2 separate regions of the Homo sapiens genome follow, and region 2 is linked to region 1. The links are contacts of gene promoters, found by promoter capture Hi-C in human tissues and cell types (Jung and others, 2019). All regions are on one chromosome and are shown on one strand. The core of a region is centred on a gene start or on the middle of the fragment in contact, and the rest is flanking DNA. Distances in the headings are between cores, read along the strand shown. Region 1 holds the start of OR2A25 (olfactory receptor family 2 subfamily A member 25). Region 2 has its middle 18 kb from the start of OR2A5.

Region 1 (2,792 bases), core at 135-2,634:
ATGGGTGCACCAAAATCTCACAGATCACTAAAAAACTTACCCATGTAACCAAATACCACCTGTACCCAAATGACTTATGGAAAAATAAAAAATATTTGGAAAATATTACTTACACTGCCTTATGTAGAAGTAGAAAATCCAAAACCTTAATGTTCAAAAAATTGAATTGGTTACCAGAATTTTCTTCTAATCAAAGAACACCATGCCATATAGTTTTAAAGACAAATTTTACCGATCCTTAAGGAACAGCTAATTTTCATACTATGTAAAACTTATTGAGAATAGACAAAAGAAGTACAGCAATCCAGCTTGCTTTATAGGGCTAGTATAACAATGATAACAAAACTAGAAAAGTACAGTAGAAGAAAAGTGATTTATTGAACAAATCTCAAAAATGAACATAAATGCAAATTAGCCTAAGTGTTAGTAAACCAAGTTCAGCATTGCTATTATCAAACAAAATACATCTTTTTCAGATAAAATATAATTTTAGGCAAAAAAATTATAAGACATATAGAAGGCTTTTATATTTATAAAATTAGAAATAGAAAAAGAAGAGATATAATTTATGAGTTTATATATTTAATAAATTGGACCGTGGACAACATATGGGTCACAGTGATTGTTTCTCTCCAGGCATTAGATGCCCTTGGGCATCAATATGAGGAAGCAGCATCTTTTCAGTATATGAGGACACAATCTGAACACCAATCACCAACAAGCCTCTTACTGAACAGGTCTGATGGGGAAAAGCACATTAAAACCTGCTACAGGTGAGCTCTCTCAAGGTTAAAATAATAGGTTTTTTTACTTTCTTAGTTGGCAGTCATAAACATTAAAAAAACTTTAATTTAGCAAATTACATCCTGCCTCCTTTATATTTAAGTATAAGAATGGATTTAGGTAAAAGACTAAAAGAAAAATTTAAAGCACAAAGACACCATCGGATTGTCTCAGCTGGATTTCCGGAAATTATAAAATAGGGTCAGTTCATTTTCATTTCTTCATTCTCAGAAGACAGAGAAAATAGTAATAGTCACAGACCTCAGGGATTATGGTCGTCCTCACTTCACCTCACACTCCCCTTGCATTCAAAATCACTAGAAATTAAAGAACAGGGATTGCTTCTTGGTAAGAACTGTCCTTGTTTGTGCTCCAGTTAAATCTTACAAAAAGGGTTCAACAAATCCCACTGGGATGCTTTATCCTTCTTTCTGATCCCTTAACATGTTGCCCACAGCTTCTATAGCTCTTGCTACCTGGTCCTACTTTGGGAATTGGATTCCTTGTGGAGATTTGATGGAAAAAATTACAGAATATATGTTCGGGTTGCACAGAAGATAAAACTCAGTCAAAATGGGATGGGAATACTATATGGGTTCCACCTGCCCTGAAACAAGTGATTCTATTTGGAAGGTTGAATCTATATGAGTTCCACCTGCCCTAAAAACAAGTGAATCTATTTGGAAGGTTAGTAGGTGGGGATATTTTGGAGTTCCTGAAACTAAAATAAGCCTGGGGAATCTGTAATGTATGAAGAGGTCCTGGAAGTAATTGTATTCCTGCTTAAATTTCTGATCATGAATCCTACACTGACTGAAGAAAGTAACAGCAGCAACATCTTGACATCAACATCCTTCCAGAGAAAACCAGAGAGATAAGTACAGGGAGAGCCCTTTTCCCTAGGACAGGAGCAGATGGCAGTGTGCGTGATGGGTCTTTATCTCTCCACTGCAACACACTTTCATAGCATACTGAGGCATGGTTGATCTAAGCAGAGAATAACGTCATCTCTTCTGAGAGCTATCCAACCTCCACTGGGGCACTTTTTTCCCCCAATAATCTTTTTGGAATGAAAGAGTTTCAACACTAGCTTACAGATGCTTTTTACTAATTTGTGAAGCTTTACCTAACTCATATCCACCTTGTTTTCTCATTTTTAGTTGTTAATCCTGATGTAAAATGTAAGTTTTTATATTATCCAACCTTTATTTATTATACAATTTCAGAAGCACTGTAATAAAAAATCACAATGCAAACTGTAATTCTTACCTGTTAATGCCAAATTTCTGCTATTTACAGACTTAGCTACTAGACTAATTTAACATTTTTCTCTTTCAGATATACCTAATGTAGATAATTTATTTTGATGCTTTTGGTGTTGAATTTCTTGTTTAAATTGTAAGGTAAAATAGTTGTTTGTGGGGGGTTGCCTCATGTTTCTATTGCCTCATGAAATTAAGTAGTGGTTTTATAGAACAATGGGCCTAATTGACTGCAAACTAGATTTATGTTACATAAGAAGAAGAGTGACACAAAGGATTTGTTTTAAAATATGAAATTCATTTTTCTGAGCTATTTAAACATGAGAATTATCATATTTGTGAGTCCCTTTTTTCTAAATTTTTGTAGGTACATAGTAGGTGTATATATTTATGGGGTATATGAGATGTTTTGATACAGGCACGCAATGTGAAATAAGCACATCATAGGGAATGAGGCACCCAGACCCTCAAGCATTTACCCTCTAAGTTACAAAAAATCCAATTACATTCTTTAATGTGAATGTAATCCAATTACATTCTTTAATGTGAATGTAAAGAATTACATTCTTTAATTATTTTAAAATTACAATGAAGTTATTGACTATGGCCACCCTATTTTGCTAACAAATAATAGGTCTTATTCATTCTTTTTAATTTTTTTGTACCCATTAATGATCCCCACCTCCTCCCAATACCCCTGCTACCCTTCCCAGCCTCTAGTAACCATCCTTCTACTCTGTATGTCCA
Region 2 (2,792 bases), core at 136-2,635, 39 kb before region 1:
ATTTAATTTTCTTATTTTATTAGTAATTTGATTTTTTTGAATTGTGTTTAGAAAATAATGCAGGCATTCATTTTACTTTTGGAAATTAGGTTTATTTTAGGCTTGATATGTGGCCCTTCCTTCCTTCCTTCCTTCTTTCTTTCTTTTCTTTCCTTTCTTTCTTTCCCTTTCCTTATGAGTTTTCTACTGGCATTTAAAAAGAAGGTTCGGCCGGGCGCGGTGGCTCACGCCTATAATCCTAGCACTTTGGGAGACCGAGGTGGGTGGATTATCCGGGGTCAGAAGTTCAAGACCAGGCTGGTCAACATGGTGAAACCCCGTCTCTACTAAATATACAAAAATTAGCCTGGCGTGGTGGCAGGAGCCTGTAATCCCAGCTATTCAGGAGGCTGAAGCAGGAGAATTGCTTGAACCTGGGAGGCAGAGGTTGCAGTGAGCCGAGATCACGCCATTGTTCTCCAGCCTGGGCAACAAGAACAAAACTTCGTCTCAAAAAAAAAAAAAAAAAAAAAAAAAAAAAAGAAAAGAAGAAGAAGGTTCATTGTCTGTTTTCAGGTTTCAGAGACTGTGAAGTATTAATTATATCTATTTTGTTAATTATGCTATTTAGACCTCTATGTGTTTTTTCCCATAATCTGATACAGAGTGAAAACAGTTGAATTCCTCACTCCTGCTAGTTCTATGTTCCTATTACCTCTTGAGTCACTTCTAGATTTTGCTTTATAAAGGTTGACTTTATTTCATTTGAAGTTTATGTAGTTATAACTATAATATCTGCTGTGTTAATTATATTATTTGGTCTTATTACATGCTCTTATATGACATTAACTTTTTTGTCTGATATTAAGATTACAATTCTTGCTTTACTCTGATATTAAGATTACAATTCATAATTTTACTGTTTAAAAGTGTAATACTAAAGTATTGCATAGTGTCCCTAAGTACAAGAAAGCTGTGATGTGCTTTTACAGAGAAAATATAGGTGTTAAATAACCTTTGGCACACCATGAGTTCAATGTTAACAAGTCAACAATGTAGTACTTCCAAAAACAGAAACAGAAAAAAAGAAAAAGTATGCCACTACTCATGCTTTTCTTTTTAAATATTATAAATCTCTTTGCTTTAACTCTGTTTCTTGTGAACAGAGTAAAATTGAACTTTGTTATTTATATCGAAACTCTAAGTTACTTTAATAAGTGAGTTTGTCTATTTATAACTGAAATGTTTATTTTAGGATAGAGCATTGGATTTTATGTTAAGCTTGGTGGATTTGTAGCTTTAAAAAACATGTGTTGTATGTTTTATTTTTTGTGTCATTCTAACATTGAAGATTTAAGATCATTCTAACTTAAGATTTAAGTTTCATTCTGGAGGTTATGTTTTAGATCTCTAATTTTGTGCAATATCCTTAAGCTTCTGTTTCTTTACATTGAATTAATTACTTCCCACATGAATGTAATTACCTGTTATGGACAATAATGGAATTTGTCTATATACTCTTTATCCTGCCTTCCTGTCTCTCCTCTCTCATCTGATTTTAGTTGAGCATATTACCATTCTTAGTATTTATTCTTATCAATTAAATGTACTTATATCTGTTTTACTTGATTTGCCAGATTTAAGTGAAATACTTTTGCTCTCAGACATTAAAGATGAGGAAGTCAGCATTACACAATCTCCTATCTTCTTTTCTTCCATTTTTTGTCATTTGTACTTATTTCTATATTTTCAAGTCATGTTTTTGGCATTTGCATTCTGCCCTGCCAGCTAAGTCCTCATATTTACTTTCATCACAGTCCTACAAATAAAAAGATTCAATGCTCACTGCCACTTCTGTCACTGATTTTCTGGGACTGACATTCTTTGGTTTCTGTTATGTTCTATACTATTTGTGTCTTTTCATTTGTACAAACATTTGGCTGGGTAAAAAACTTGTGTGATACTTTCTTTCCTGGAGGATTTTTGTAAATGTTCCTTCACAAACTTTAGCTATGCTATTGGATATTGCTATGAAAATGTACAAATCTAGACTGACTCTATAAGTAGCTTTACTTTTGCCTAGCTAACCACATGATTCTCTCTTTATATTTTAAATTTAGTAACATTACTAGGATGTATCATTATACTTCCATTCTGTGTCAATTTCCCAAGGACATAGTTTGCCTTTTCAATATCTAGATTCATGTCTAATTTTTACTTCAGAAGAATATTCTTGAATTATAACTTAAACTACTTTTACTTTATGACTTAAATTTTCTAGAAAATGAACATATCAGCACTCTTACACCTATCTTCCACATTTTTCATGTGTCAATTTAAGAAAAAAAGACACCAGAGAAGATTATCTCCCAACAAAACAAATGTATTTGGGAGTAAATAAAGAGAATTATAATCTGGGATGTACTATGGCAAATACAGTGAGGGAAGAGTAAAGGAAAACTTTTATTGCCAATGGTTGAAGTTTACGTAAACTGCTCAGAAATAGAGTTCATTGGATTCATTGGCTCAAAGCCAGAGATATTGGTTCATTGGTGGAGATGCTATTACTCGGCAAGTGTTAAGGGAACATCTTATCGGAATTGCTGCAATCCTAAAGAATGTTTAGTGATAAACCTTATCATAAAAGTATGTGTATATATGAGAAACATGCAAGAATTTCTCGTGGGGTTATTTTTTAAAGTCCTTTAGACTGTGTGTGTGTGTGTGTGTGTGTGTGTGTGTGTGTGTGTATCTCAGACAAGTAAGCATGAGTTCCTTTCCTTCATGCCCTCCTGACCCCAATTTGTGTGTGT

What was found. Contacts are between HindIII fragments. The study calls those that stand out against the background at their distance.
Region 2: a contact is called between a fragment that was not itself captured here and the fragment with the promoter of OR2A25 in region 1, in 1 of the 25 tissues and cell types used here (hippocampus).

The regions. Positions count from the first base shown.
Region 1 is chr7:144,068,427-144,071,218 of GRCh38, forward strand. OR2A25 (olfactory receptor family 2 subfamily A member 25) reads left to right here and starts at 1,385. Exons shown (of 2, transcript NM_001386096.1): 1 at 1,385-1,470. The HindIII fragment of the contact is 18,133 bases long and covers 1-2,792 here.
Region 2 is chr7:144,029,213-144,032,004 of GRCh38, forward strand. No RefSeq gene overlaps it. Among named protein-coding and RNA genes, the nearest start is that of OR2A5, 18 kb to the right of the region's middle. RefSeq lists a silencer at 1,170-1,370. The HindIII fragment of the contact is 4,736 bases long and covers 1-2,792 here.